2 separate regions of the Homo sapiens genome follow, and region 2 is linked to region 1. Evidence: promoter capture Hi-C in human tissues and cell types (Jung and others, 2019). All regions are on one chromosome and are shown on one strand. Each heading gives the region's core, a stretch centred on a gene start or on the middle of the fragment in contact. The rest is flanking DNA. Distances are from core to core; before and after follow the strand shown. Region 1 holds the start of GRIA1 (glutamate ionotropic receptor AMPA type subunit 1). Region 2 overlaps LINC01470 (long intergenic non-protein coding RNA 1470).

What was found. The method cuts DNA at HindIII sites, captures the fragments that hold promoters and counts their contacts. A contact is called where the count stands out against the background at its distance.
Region 2: a contact is called between a fragment that was not itself captured here and the fragment with the promoter of GRIA1 in region 1, in 1 of the 25 tissues and cell types used here (dorsolateral prefrontal cortex).

The regions. Positions count from the first base shown.
Region 1 is chr5:153,487,953-153,495,862 of GRCh38, forward strand. It overlaps GRIA1 (glutamate ionotropic receptor AMPA type subunit 1), which reads left to right and starts at 2,718. Exons shown (of 16, transcript NM_000827.4): 1 at 2,718-3,018; 2 at 5,976-6,113. The coding sequence starts at 2,937. The HindIII fragment of the contact is 6,455 bases long and covers 1-5,699 here.
Region 2 is chr5:152,806,815-152,814,724 of GRCh38, forward strand. All of the region lies in intron 3 of LINC01470 (long intergenic non-protein coding RNA 1470), which reads right to left. Among named protein-coding and RNA genes, the nearest start is that of LINC01470, 160 kb to the right of the region's middle. RefSeq lists enhancers at 4,851-6,050, 5,260-5,519. The HindIII fragment of the contact is 3,053 bases long and covers 2,027-5,079 here.

The DNA of each region.
Region 1 (7,910 bases), core at 1,468-3,967:
TTTGCATGTCCTTCCCAGTCCTCAGTTACTGCCTATAATCTCCTCATCCTTCACGGCTCAGTTCTTTTGAAGCCTTGCTGGATCCCCACAGACAGACACACTGATTGCATCCTTCTTTGCTCCCCCGCTGCTGTGTTTACATCTTTTAGAGCACTTGTCATGGTCTTTCTGGGTGACAGTTGTCCGGGTTCGTCTGTCTTCTTCTTCTGCCACATTCACCTGCCTTGAGGCAGAGACTGTGTCTGATTCCTCTTCATATTGCCCAGCACCTGGCACCCTGTGAGATACAGAATAGGTTCCCCACCAACATTTGAAATGAAGAGAATTATAAAGAAACATGGAATAAACATTGAACCTAATGTAGTTTGACCTAGATGCCTACACTTGAAATATGTAAGTTCTATATTTAATCAGTGAACAACTATGTATTTAATAGACCAAGGGGAGCTATTGACCATACTTGAGCAGGGCAATGACGTAGACCTCTGTTTTAGGAAGATCTGCTTGACTATATGATTTATAATGACCATGGAAAATTCATCTTTTTGACTCCCTTAAAAGTCCCCTCCCTACAAAGTATGCAAAACAAATCTTACCTAATGCAGGGGGACATTGAGGTTTTGCTTGTAAAGGGTCTAAAGAGCTTCCTCTAAAAGGTGATTGCAAGGTGTGAAGCCTTTAATGACAGCCTAATTATTATTATTACCAGGCACAAAGCTTAGGGAACCTAAAAGATCCCCAGGTACTATTCAAAGTAGTAAGATACAAAAACTGAAAATGGAGAAATTAAAAGATGGAATCATTAAATCAGAGACTCTTAATGTTGGCAGAGACCTTAGAAGTGATCTTTCCTGATTCTGTTCTCTCATCTTCCTATGCTGATGCTTATTCTTCCTTTAGAAGGTTCCTACCCAGTGCTTGCTGTTATTAGAGCCTAAGAGTTAAGAGCTGGGGCCTGATGGTGGCATTTACTGTGTTTAAATGCCCAATCTCTTTCATTAGCAGTGAAAACTTGGGGTGAGTTTTTAGACCTCTGTTTCTTCATCTATAAAATGGGCATGAGGCTACCTACACAGGTATTGTACAAATAAATGATGCAGGTGCATTTCTTAGCATGGTACCTGGCACATTCAAAATAGTGAATAAACATTAGCCTTAAAAATTATTTTAGCTAATTAATTAATATATGTGAAAGTGCATAGGAAATCACAAAGCATTTGACCTCCAAGTTGTTCCTATTTTGGGGCTTCATTGTACATGGTCAGATATTTTTTACAAATCCCAGTCCTTGTAGCTGTCACTCAAGTCCACATGATATACAGTCCTGGTGAGGGAAGTGAAGAGTCTGTGGATAAAATGGCCTATTCATATGGCAAAGCAAAATGGAGTCCAAAGTCTATTATTTCTTTCTTACTAAAGACAAAGTTGACTTTCCTTTTCCTGGATCATCTCCTGTTGGACAGGAGTCCTGGCCAGGGCAGTAAGTCAACTGGTAACGGCCAAAGCACTCAAGTTTGTAGGTTGTACTGTACATCTTAGTAGGTCTGTGTCTTTATGACTTAATCCCAGAAGTCTTATCTTTTTCATCTGTAAAACAGGGCTCATGGCCACTTTACAGGTTTGGAGTGAAGATAGATGGATAAAAATCTGTAAAGTTCCTTCAAAAACTGTATTCTGTGGCGGCTAGTGGCTGCTGCTTTGCATTTAACACTACTATCCTGAACACAGCTGATCTCTCTACAGGTTATTTCAGCAGAAGCCCTGGTCTAGGAGAGTCTATGAAGTTCCAGCTTACACCAGACATGACCAGCATCCAGAAAGACCTGAAAGAAGCTTGAATCCTCTCACTAGAATCCCTGCAAAATGACTCATGTAATTGCTCTGTGTAAGTATCCTTAGTCTTTATTGTACACCCACACGATTCTGATGCTATAGACTCCTGTGGAATGCAGGGAAAGAGAGAAGGGGGCCCATTTTAAATGCCTAGGATTGAAAAGAGACCACCGTTTCACTTGTAAAGGTAGACAGGGACTGTCAAATACCTGGTCAAAATACCTGCCAGTCACTCCAGATCCTCCCTTGTTTGTCTATCTGTCATTCCTTCCATTAGGAGAGAGAAAGCTTTTTTTTTTTTTTCCTTTAAATTTCCTAGGAGGGATTTCTAGGGTCTTTCCCTCAGGAATTAGTTGTAGGAATAATTGGGCCAGTGGAGTGCAGGAGATATATCCAGCGCAGCCCATGCACTCCTAGAAAAAGTGACCTAGATCAAGCAGCTGGTGGATTGAGGACTATTGTGGGGACCCCCTGCCACCTACTGACTTACAGCTGAACCCACATTCCCAGCAGCTTCAGCCTGGGGGCTGGGGGAGCGGGCAGACCGAGCTCAGAAAGGCAGGGGAGGGTAAAGAGGACTGTGGGGTTGCCCCTTTCAGGACCAAGTGCCACGTGTCACACACCCCCACCTCCACCTTTCTGCACACACAGAAAGGAGGATAAGGTGAGGATGGGAGGAAGGGGGAACAGGTAGGGAGGTCGGCTGTGGAACTCCAAGCTAGCTCGGTGGGTATTAGCATAGAGCTTGCTGCCTGTGTGAGTGTGAGGGGGAGAGCGAGAGAGAGCAAGGGAGGGAGAGAGAGGCAGGCTGCGAGGGGAGAGGAGAGGGAGTGGGGGAGCCAGCGCTCCAGCTAGCATGAGGACGGGCTTCTTTTCCCGTGCTCAGTTAATCTGGCTGTCAGTTGGTGTTAACGCTGCAGTTTAAGTGTTCGGATTCCAAGGGAAACAGACAAACCTCACGAAAGGAAGGAAGCAAGCAAGCAAGGAAGGAACTGCAGGAGGAAAAGAACAGGCAGAACAGCGAGAAGAATAAAGGGAAAGGGGGGGAAACACCAAATCTATGATTGGACCTGGGCTTCTTTTTCGCCAATGCAAAAAGGAATATGCAGCACATTTTTGCCTTCTTCTGCACCGGTTTCCTAGGCGCGGTAGTAGGTGCCAATTTCCCCAACAATATCCAGATCGGTGAGTGAGGGGGCAGCCTGGGGAGGGACTTTCTGGGTCTGGCCAGGGATTTTTTTGGGGATAGGGGTTGTGTACCCCCTCCCCGGTACTGACTGTTTTGCTTGGCTCCCTAAAGCTGTGCTGCGGTAACAGAAGGGAGACTTGGGCTTACAGCCAGAGGAGGGGGCTTCTCCTGATCGGATGAGGGGCAGAGGGGAAGTGTTCACACACGCACACATACCCTACTCGCACTCCAGGCAAGAGCATGTGAAATGGAGGAACCATCGCTTTGGAGGAAAAAAAAAATCAGGCTGGAAAGGGTGGTGGGTGTTTAAGGAGTTAACTCTATTGCTTGGTAGATGGTGCTTGATTCCATTTTTAATGTAAGTATGTATGGTGTGTGTGTTTTCACGTGTGTGATTATATATTACATATGCACATATATATGTAATTGAAGGAGGCAGTGCTTTCTCTGCTGGGGGACAGAAAAGAGACCCTCGAGAAGAAGGAGTGAGGGGTGCTGGGTATATTGCAGCCACTGAAATAATGCCAGAAGGCCCCCACTCCAAGGCGGGTAGGCTCCCTCTCCTGTTCTGGACTCCTCCAGCTGCCTTCTCTTTGCTGTCTGCCATGCTGCGCTGGTGGTCTCCACTCCCCCGATCCTGGAACTTCCTCGCCTGCCTTTTCTCCGTTCCTTCCTTGCCCCCTCCTCTTAGATTTCCTATCCACAGAGGTCTACCTTTTACACACACAAACACACACACGTACACATGCTCCTTTCTCCTCCTGTTGGCTCTCCATTATCCTTGTTACTGGGCTCCATCCTCTCAACTTGGAGGCAGGTTTCAACATGCTGCATGCTTTTTTTGTTCCCCATTTCCCCTTCTTAGTTGTTACACTTCTCAAAGGCCCCGCCACCCTCCCTGTATTTCTGAGGGGACTGACAGATATTGCTACTCCTGATAATCATGAGGGAAAGCAAAACAAACAGAAGCAATAACACCAATCACAAAGCATGTCCACAAGGGCTTGGGGCTTCCGTGTGACCAGCATGTCAGTGTCGTTTGTGTCCCGGAATGAAGCAAGCTGCTGTGTTTGGAAGCATCTTCGTTGGTTTGGTTTCTAGTCTCTCTCCCCTGGTAGGGAGATAGCTCCACTAGGGAAAGTTCGCATTGCTGGGAGTTTGTGCTCTTTTGTGAGTGTGTGTTTGAGGGGGGATGTGGTGCAATTGATATTTTGTCGGGCATACATGTGCTGCAGTACCCATCTCTTTCAGCCTCTCCAGCTAGCTGGCGGCTTGGAGTGGCCATGGAGTAACTTGCTTTGTTTCCTGACACCTGTTAAGCTACATCCTGAAGTGTGTACGTATCTGTGTGTTAGTGCCTAACACGCAAAACTTCCTGCCTTCAGGGGAGACACTTCCCTTGTAGCCCAGCCCGTAGCCTTCTACTCCTCAACCTCCCATCCTTTCTCTTTCATTCATTGCAGAGGAGGAGAAAGGGGACAGGGAAGTGTTTGGGGTGTGGTCATCTGGGGGGAAGGGGGAGCATCATAATCAAGAATTTTTTTTGTTTTCATTCTTTAAAATGGGAGCACTTGTACATGTGGAAATCACTGGCTCTTACATGTGGCATTGTTTACATTTGTGCTTATATACTACCTATCCTTTGTGGCTTGGAAGTGTTTGTCTAGTATATTTGTGTATATAGTAAATGGTATAAATGCATGAGGATGTTTCATGTATGTGCTATGTTTTCTCATGTATCTCTGCATATTTTTAAAATTATATTTAGCCCTAACTTGGTTGTTCAACTGATAAAGCCATTGCTACTGTTTTCAAAAAAAAAAGAGATTGAAGCATTAAATTGTAGAACAAAATGCTGAAAATATCACTGCCATCAGGTAGTACTTGATTCTATTTGTGTGATCTGTAACAAAAGGCTTGCAATCCATTTATTGGTTCTTAAAAACAGACACCCACTCTACAAGAAGTTAGAAGTGCATTATGTTTGGACTGTGATTACTGTCAGATTTGAGATAAACTTCTATGTAAACATCATTATAGTTCAGTCTCTAGAAATGGCTGATTTTAATTCACAGAAATGTAATTGATTTACATGTTGACAGTAAATACAAAGGTAAGCCATGGACTCTTGTTTCTCGGAACAGGCATCCCATCAGGCACCTTTACTATACCTTTTACTAGAATAGAATGTTTGTATCCTCTTGAGATGCCTAAGATCCCACATCTTTGAAGCACAAGGTTCCACCATGCAAACACACAATGGCAATCCCTTATGTAACAAGTCATTCCTAGGTAACTGGGATCATGTGTGGTGAAAGAGTAAGCAAAACATTGTTTGCAGAAAAGCAAGAGTTTTTAGAGAAAATGAATAATAAACCTTAGGGGCAATAGAATAGTTAAATTGCATGCAGGTCTTGCTAGGCCAAAGACTAAAAACTGTCCATGTAAACAGTTATAGTAGTGGAGAAGCCCACAGGGTCCCAGAGCTAGATTTCAATCACCCTGCAGCACTGATTAGTACCTACTTCCCGTAAGGCTCTCTGGTGAGAGATGAGGCTGATGTAAGAAAAATTAGACATGACTAGAGGGTGAGGGGGCTTATGTGTATGTTTATATAAGAGAATAGCAGCTCCTAGGTGGTTTGCACAAGGGAGGAAGAAGAGAAATGGCACAAGTCTCCTGTTTTCTCTGACTTTAGCTGAGTTGAGGGGTACACAATCAAATGTTTGAGCAAAGTAATAGATATTAGAGGCCCATGTCACAAAAAAGCTCATCTGTAGGAGTTTAAGTTTCAGTGTCCAGTTAAGCCTATTTGAACTCTCATCTCTACCACTCAAGGCTACAGCTAGTGAGTTTGGCATGGGGAGAAGAAAAGGACTCATCTGGAGTGAGTCGTGAGGAACTAAAACCTGTCTCTAGCCCATATACCATGTTGCATTTTCTTTTCTCATAGGGGGATTATTTCCAAACCAGCAGTCACAGGAACATGCTGCTTTTAGATTTGCTTTGTCGCAACTCACAGAGCCCCCGAAGCTGCTCCCCCAGATTGATATTGTGAACATCAGCGACAGCTTTGAGATGACCTATAGATGTAAGTAATTGCTTCTATTTCTGAGATGTCTTTCTGCGCTAGACCAATGAAAGGAGGGCCTGTGGGTAGGTGGTGGTGTTGCAAAAATGACTTCAGTTGCCATTCGTCTTTGTAAGAGAAAGCCCTCCAAGAAAAATTTCTAGAGGCTTCTGAGTGATTCCAGCAGTTGGCATTTTAGCCCCTGCAATGCTTCATGTAATGGATTTGCTTTTTCACTGTCAGCTAACTTTAATGCCAGCACGATGGGTGCTTGGGTTGACTGCATCTTCCCTACCTTGCAGAGGTTTTCTGGCACAGCTGAGAGAGTTTTACACATACGAATCTTCTGAGAGGCATAGAATTAAGGGTCCTGAGTTTGTGAAAATGTGGTTTAAAGTGCTTAAGGCATTTCCTATCTACATGTTAAATGGACAGAATGTAGCTTGATAAGAAATAATAGCTGAGAAGTTGTACACATCTGGTTCTTCATTTTCGGAAGTGACCAATAATTAAAACTTGGTGCCTTGGTCATTTTAAAAATAGCTTGAGGAAATTGGTTGTTTAAGGCACAGTTTGTAGGATGGTCATTGAGCATCAAACAGAACAAAGGTGGCCTCAAGAAGAAGGGATAGATAAATCTCTGACATCTGAATTGAATGCATTGTAAAATGTGGGCAACAAACACCATTCTGAGTTTTCCTGGCAACTAGGAATGAAAAGGAAGCCTGTGCTCACATGATTGGCTTTTCATGACAGATGAAAGCATAAAAATTAATCAGGAAACATATTTTCCCTTCAGGGATTAAGCTCAAGTAAAAATTTATGGCAGGGAAATGTGAGCTGAATTCACAAGAACAATTTGAGACCCCAAACTGGATTGAATTGGCACGATAGTCTTGGTGTGTCACTATTGACTTGGTGACTTCTGCTGAGCTGTCTCTGGTGGAAGTCATGGACCATATTTCCTTTGTGTCTTTCTCATAGTCCCACTGGTGAGTTCTCAATGATTTGAATAGGCTATGCTTTGAAGTCTCAAAATGAGAAGTCAGAATTCTTTCTATCCCAAAGACCACTCCTAAAATAATGTTGTTACAAATTCCAAGAACTATAATTATAGCAGATTTCATTTATTGAGAACTTACTGTGCATCAGAACTATGATAAATACTTTATAGTCATTTATAGTCACATTCATTACCATGTATTAAGCACTGACTACAGCCCATGTAATGCACTAATTGCTTTTTATGTGTTAGCTCATTTAATCCTCACAGGAGCTTTGCAGAGTACTAGACATTATCTTCCTTTTAGAGATGAGAAAACTGAGGCTACAACAGATTATATAACTTGCCCAAGGTTACTCAGGAAGCAAATGGTGGTTTTGAGACCTGAAGGTCCATGTTCCTGGATACTGTGACAGATACACTGATTCTTATGGTACCCTAATCAACTAGTGGGATTACCCAAGAAATGAAAGGGAATTTTCAGGGTCTTGTAAGGCAGAGGTCTAATAAAGTACCTAAGGAGAAAAACTTACAGTGTTTCAAACTGTAGCTATGATTTGCACAGGACTGGTCCATTGAATAAATAAAATAGCAATTCTTCATTTTGGTAATGCTGAGGTTGAAAATCTTATCTACTGTGTTACTCACTACCCTTAAAAAAATAGCTGAAGTTTAATTGCTGAATTTTAGTTCTATGAAACTATCTTTCTGGGAATCTAGAATAATACTGAGTAGCTATTTTGCTATTAGATAACCTTTCTTTACTTTTTAATGTGGCTTTGATTAGGGTCTTTGGAAGGGGCATTTGGTTGGGG
Region 2 (7,910 bases), core at 2,303-4,802, 680 kb before region 1:
ATATTGTGTATCTATTTATATATAGTATGTACAGCTGTACTTTACACATAAAGAGTAGGATCCCCTTCTCACCACCAAGAATTAATTTTTGCCTCCTTGGTGTCAATATTGCCCCAATTGAGAATACATGCTCCAGGGACACTTCAAACTTGCTGTCTTGCAGTAAAAGCTCAACATTATACGACAGACTTTTTAACATTCCAGCATATTTTCATTTATGTGCACTATTATTTTAGCAGACACTCTTAGAGTGATGCTCTGAAAATAGCCATGGCATTAGATTCATGTTATTTTGTGTAGAATAAACTACTTTCTATACTTACAATGTGAACTTGCATATATTGGCTTGGAATTTAGCCACATCTGATATAAACATGGCCTCTGTCTCTCTTGCCAAAAGTTAGTGGCAAAATGAGAAGAACCTGTTGTATCTTATTGCTAGTCTTTACAGTTACTACAACTACACAAAAGCTTCTCTGGACATCCTGACTCTAGTTTGATATCATTCCTATTTATTAAGCCTCTCCTTGACCATTTCTTCTAGAAAAATCATCTATTAATTTATTCCTTGCCCCAAATCGAACACAGGTTTTCCTTTCTCTATACCTTTGTTTCTGCTCCTCTTTTTGTGTGAAATGTCATCCTTTTTTGCATCTACCCATGCAAATTCAAGGCACATTTCTTTCATAAAGTATTCTCAGCCCATGGTGACCTCCTCCTTCTCTCCTCCAGCAGCACTTCCCATGTCTAGTATTATTTGGTATGTATTCGTTACTGGTGGAAGAGATCCGAGTTACCCCAAGTTACCAGTGGCATATCTGTAGGCCTCTGCAGCAATTTTAGTCCCTACTTCCTCAGAAAAAAGAATTTGACTGAGGGGCATAAAGCAGAAAAAGAGACTGAGGCAAGTTTCAGAGCAGGAGTGGAAGTTTATTTAAAAAGGCTTCAGAACATGAAAGAAAAGGTTCACTTGGCAGAGATCCAAGAGGGCTCCTGAAGGTCAAAGAGAGAAAAAGGGGCATTTAACCTTGATCCTAGGGCTTTCTAGGCTCACCTCTTTTCCATGATTCTTCCCTTAGGATGGGCTTCCCAAATGCTCAGTACCCTCCTTACCCTTAAGAATTGAGCAGGGGCAGTGTGTTTAGGAAGGTGTACACATGCCCATCTGAGGCTTTCTTCCTTTTTCCTGTGGAGTGTACTAGGAAGGTTGTGCTTCATCATCTTGTCTGTTAAGGCACATACCCAGGAAGTTTTTCTCCCTGGCATCCATATTCAATTCACACTTTAACGTTAATAGCTATGGATAATCAGGAAATGTCCTCTCCCTGGCTTTAGAGATGTAGTGTGATAGTTATTGAACCATCACCTGATATTCCCAGTGGGTTGGGGGAGAGCCCTCTCCTGCCCCGCTCACACCTATCTAACTACCTGTAACATATTTATGGACTCCTCAAGGGCCTAGAATAGGGTCCACACACACATACACTGAACACCAAAATGAGGATGGAAGCCCTTTTCTACAATACTCATGACAGCTGTTAATAATCAGTTATTCCCACTGAACAATGAAGAAGCTCAAGAGAGACACTTTTAGTGATGTCAAGTTAATATACAAATAAAAGCTAATTGCCTCCTGGGTTTTGTTATTATCTTTATAGACCCAGAGCCCTTAACATAATCTATGTACACAGAATATGTTCAGGAATAAATATTTCTTTGATAAATGAATAGGTGAATAAGTCTATCCAATACGGATGCCTCCAAGAATGCTACAGCCTTCATTCCAGAGCCTACAGGAAACCTAAATGGAAAGGACAGAGAAAAAATGAAGACAATAAGAGGGAGGTAAATATTAGTCATATCTAGGTGATGTTTGCCTGAGCTCTTAACTTCTCTGGATGTCAACTAAAAAAAAAAATGTAAATGATATATTCTAGGACTAAAACCCAAAGTTACCCTATATCTAAACTGCTAAAGTAATTGTCTTCAATGTCATGAAAACATTTGTCAAGAGAAGAAAAGACTCAGGTAGGCCCCAGTAGCTGCTTTTACATATCTGAAAAGATCATTCAGTTTTCAGCTCAATAGAAAGAAATTTCTTACAGTAAAATCTAGTCAAGGTCAGATTAAACTTCTTTTGGAGATGAGTCACATGACACTAACAGCATTGAAGAATACATTGGACAGCTTGGCAGGAAATCATTAGAAGGCATTCAAACAGCGGAAGAGGGCAGGGGAGACTGGACCACCCTAAATTCTTCCCCAGCCACATGAGACTGTAATCCAGATGGCTCATTCCAGGGCTAACTGGTAATTTACTGTGAGTATCATATTCAGAGCATACAAGCCATTCTCTGAAAGGGCCTGATTCCTTTATCTCATGAGGACACAAGCTATACTCTTAAACCTTGCAACTTCCTATGCTCAGTGACAAACAAAGGAATCATCACAATGAAGAAAAAATGAAAAAAACAAGTAGCTGCTTAAAATTACCATTATTGTTGCTGCTGTAAAGAAAAGCATTTGTTGATTTCTGCTTTTGTCCTACTCACAAAATTACCAAGATGCTTTTCCCAGGTGTGGAGTAGCTCTTTTGATTACAGGCTGTTTGAATATTACATTTCTTCCCAGACAGCGACTTTATGCTGTAGGCAAATTGAGCTGTTTTCATATAAATACAGCCAGTCCTTCAGCAATATTTTAATTACCAACTAAATGGGTACTTGACTTTCTCCCCCACAACCCACCACACATTACAATCCTCTGAATGACCTCCCTAATTCAGGTAGACCCATGGGAAAATCATTAAACCCAAAGTTGAAGTGTTTCCTAGAATTCCTCCATTATAATACTTATTCATCATATACACCGTGCAATAATACCTTCTCTAAGTAACCCAAAGCCCTTTCTTGGTAGAGAAAGCTCCATAAAAATAACTGATGTCTGCTGAGTACGTAATGTGTGTTACTTACATAGTGCTCACAAAACTGATGAAATAAATATTATCATTCCCATTAATTAAATGAGGAGTTACTGAGGCTTTGAAATTAGGTAAATGGCCCAAGGGGACAGAGTTAATATGCAGTGCAGCTGGAATTCAACCCTATGCCCATTTTGTTTTAGAGCCTGAGTTCTTTACCACAATGTTATGCTTTAAGTCATTGATTCTCAAAACGTAGCCCCTGAATCATCATCAGCAGCATAACCTGGGAACTTCTCAGAAATGCAAATTTCCAGGCCCCACTATATTTACTGAATCAAACTCTGTCTTCCAGTGATTCTGATGTATTCTGAGAACTACTGGGCTAAGCAAATAATGTTATCTCTACTCTGTGTCAAGAGTCATGCTAGGTACAATATAAGCTACAGAAGAAGTTTGGTTTCTTCACAGAAGAGTTTATGATTTAGGAAAGGAAAAAAAAAGATTAAAATAAAAAGAATGAGTAGTATAGAGAAACACACATAGAATTTAATAAATATTTGTTCGTTAATTGAAATAGATTCGAAATTGTAGGCTGAATGATTTTGTGGATTTAAATTTTCTGCAACTTCCTTTTCTCCCTCCTGCATATCTATTCAAGCTTGGGAAATATTTTACGAAGCTTAACAAAAATATTTCATTTTCAGATACACTTATGTATGTGTCTCTTAGTCTACTATGTATTTCTAATGTTTGTGTGATGTTAGTATGCTTTTTTTTTTTTTTTTTTTTGAGACGGAGTCTCGCTCTTTCGCCCAGGCCGGAATGCAGTGGCGCTATCTCGGCTCACTGCAAGCTCCGCTTCCCGGGTTCATGCCATTCTCCTGCCTCAGCCTCCCGCGCAGCTGGGACTACAGGCGCCTGCCTCCGCACCCGGCTAATTTTTTGTATTTTTAGTAGAGATGGGGTTTCACCGTGTTAGCCAGGATGGTCTCTATCTCCTGACCTCGTGATCTGCCACCCCGTGATCTGCCCGCCTCGGCCTCCGAAAGTACTGGGATTAAAGGCATGAGCCACCGCGCCCGGCCTGTTAGTATAAGTACCTTGCATTTTAATTTTCAGAAGACTTTCCAGTAGAGAAGGACACTTCTTCAAATGGACTAATCCCAAGGAGCTGAGTTCTGAATCTGCCATGTATACCCCACACAGATTCTGCTGAACAGTGGAAGGAGGCCAGGATGGGAAGTTTGTCAAAGGGTCACACTAAGGTTCATTCTGCAACCCATCTACACTCCTGAGTGTTTCCCAAATGCTCTGGCATCACTGTCAACATTGTTAACTCATCCTCTCAGAAATAAGGGCTTCATTTTCTTTTAAAAACAGGATTAGAACCTGGCAGGCCATCAGTATATAAATTTGTTTAATTTAGTCAGTGATTCTCAACAAGGATAGCTTCATCCCAAGGGGGAACTTTTTGGTATTACAACTGTTTGATGCTACAAGCTTTTACTGAGTGAGATCAGAGATGTTAGAAATCTTGCAATTCATCAGACCTATACTAAGAAAAATTGTCCTATATCCCCCAAACTTTCTGAATACCTTGCCAGGCCCTCGGGAGGTGGAAAATACAGTTTATGATAATCTGAGCCTAGAACCTAAGTAAATTTTACACATAAACAAATGGCATTTTTGCATGGTGTTATGCGAAATTTTCTAGGAATGTAACTGTAAGGTAAATCAAGGGAAGATCATATTTTTTTTCATAACTTTATCAAGACTTATTCACTATTTCAATAAAGCATTCAGTCATCAGTATTGACGTTCTGTTTGTCTTGCTAATGATACACCAATATCAGTAGGTACTTGTAGCTTTGACAGTCATTATGAATTTAAATGTGTATGTTAAGCCTCAATTTTGAAACAGCAATTATAATAAAAAGTATTGATTATATTCAGATATATATTGTCTTATTGTCATATTTCTCTCAAATCTAAACATGTTGTTCATTATAAGTAGATGTGGCTGGGCAGGGTGGCTCATGCCTGTAATCTCAGCACTTTGGGAGGCCGAGGCAGGAGGATTGCTTGAGCCCAGGAGTTTGAGATCAGTCTGGTCAATAAAGTGAGAGCCCATCTCTCTCAAAAAAAAAAAAAAAAAAAGATAAAGAAAAAGTACATGTGTTGTAGAATACTGTATCAAGGTAACAAATAATATAATTGTATTATAAATGAATCTTTTTGTATTACTTTTTATATTTGGATTTTATAAAAGTATGATTTTGTTGATTACCAGAGATGGTGAATTCCTCTTCAAAGGGTTTAATTGAGTAATGTCCTTGTCCTTGGTTCAGAGGCCTCACCTCCTTGTACTTTCTTGTTTCTAGCCTGCTAGCAGCCCTCCCACTCTCGTTGTGCACCCTGACTTGCCCAGACATGTCCGAACATGCCTTGTGCTGTAGCAGAGGGACCACTCCTTCCGCCTCCCTCCCTTGCAGATGGAACGTTTACCTTAATTGGAAAAGTTTAAGTCAGCCAACCAGGGTCAGCCTAGATTGTGCAGTCCAACCCTAGCTAATAGGGGAAGGACACAGGGATAGGGACTGCATTACGAATAAAAACACCTTCTCTCCTTTGTTTGGTGTGCTCTCACAGCAGCCAAAAGTGCAAGTGGCACCCTTCTGAAGAAGTAAATTTGCCTTACTGAGAAATCCTTTGTTTGAGTGCTCATTTTCCTTGAAACTCTGAGCTCTTGTTTCTAACATTGATGAAAATGTTGATTTGATCAAAGTATGCATCAAAGTTGTTTATATTATAAGCTTCATATCAGGATATGAAAAACATTATGAAATATTTGTTATTAAAAAGGAGCTCTGGGTCAAGTAAGGTTGAAATATGAATAAACAAATGATGTTTTGATGTATACATTTTTCTGTATTACTCTTCCTAGACTATAAACGCCACAGGTCCAGGCATCTGTTACATTCACCATTGTAACACCAATGCCTAGGATAGACCATCTCACCTAGCAGGATCACTCACTCACTCTACAAACATTTGCTGAGCATCGCTGAGTCAGGAACAAAGGGAACATACCCATGGATAAGACAGCAACCAACAAATGGCAAGTAGTATACATATAGACTGGAGCAAGTCCTAGCAGGAAAATACAGGTGGTAGAAGAACAACCTAGGATGGGTGTAATTTGACAGCATGGTGAAAGCGGGTCTCTCTGACAAGGTGACTTTTGTAAAAAGGCTGAGCTGTGAAAGTAAGCCAGCCATGAGAGAGCCCTGAAAGAGCATTCTGGGCAAAGGGAACTGTGACACAAATGCCTAAGGCAAGGTAGGGATGAGCTTGACCTCAGGACAGAAAGCCAGATGTGTGGCTAGAAGGTAGTGATAGAGATGGTGGGAGATGAAAGTGATACAAGGTGAACTGAAAGAAGCAGTCAGGCGCCAAATCTCACTTGGCCTCATGGGTCTTGGTAACACATTGGAATTTTATTCTGAGAGCAATATGAGGCTACTGGAGTCTTTTAGGGAGAAAAGGAATATGATCAAGTTTCCATTTTAAAAAGATTACTCTGGCTGCAGTGAGAAGATTAGACTATTCAATGTTCACTAGTTATTTGAATAAGTAAATGCCCAAATAAATACATTTTTTGCATGAATGAATGAATAAATCTGTGAATTCAATGACACAAAAAATGCCAAGGGCTGCAGCCCTATGCTGGGCTCACATGACACCTCACTCCTCCTTTACCTTGCTTTATAACCTCCCATCTGTCCCTTTCTGAACCTCAGGTTCCTCACGGTAGGAAAATAAGGCCTTGAAGATACCCTCCAGCTCTGGAAATAATTCAATAACTCCTGCCAACCCCACCCCACTGCCAAGGCTCTCAGGCTGCAAACAGCTGAAAAGGAATGATGAATGCCTCTGCTCTGTTTATCATCCTCGCTTTGGCATTTCATCTGCAGCTGGAGCCCTCTCTATAAGACCACTCAGCAGCTATAAGCTGACTAATTTCCATGTTGATTGCAAAGCTAGAAATGTACACACTTGTAATTCTTATTCTTGGCCCAAATGCTTCTTGTCGGCAGTATCTCTGACGATGAGGCGCTGACACCACTCACTAGTTATTGTCTGACGTGCTTGCTATTGATATGAGTGGGTTTAGGAAGATGCACAATTTGATAATCAGACCCCATCTGCAAAGCAATCACGAGTCACATTATGGAGAAAATTTAAGTAAATGCTGGAGATGTGACTGTCTTATTTTCAACTTCCCTTACCCTAGCAAAGACTGAGTAAACAGATGTTGATGTATGAAACAATTTTGTATTTTTTTAAAATATAAAGAGCATCTCCCAGTGCTTTAGCATTTAATATAAGTACAGCAAATGACAGGCTATAAAACAAAATGCTTTTATGTGTATGATCTCCTTTTGCAAATGCATTGTATTAGAGTCGTAAAGTAATACGTGTTTGGTGAAGATATTCTGACCATGGGGAAACATACGACACTGAAAGAAAATATCCCTGAAGTACATTTCGGTATCACCCCCAGGTTGATGTAGTGCCTGAGGGCAGAATTTCTGGTCAAACTACATGGATTTAAGTCCTGTTTTCATCTTGTAGATCATTTTCTGTTCTGACCTCAGACTTACTATTTCACCTCTGTCCCTCAGTTTTTCCATCTGTAAAGTGGAAATAAAAATAGTACCCTCATAACAAAGTTGTGATGCCAATCAAGTTAGTTAATGAATATAAAGCATTTAGAATAGTGCCTGACACATATTAAGAACTCAATATATATTTACTATTCTCCGTCTTACCAATTTTATTACTTCTCCTCTTCGAAGCCAACCATATTTCATGGTGTCGTACAGCTTTCAATCTAACAATTCATCTGCCCACATACCCTTTATTTCTATTTTTTTAATTAAAAATGAAATGATAGGTATGACAGATTTTCAATTCTTTCCACTCA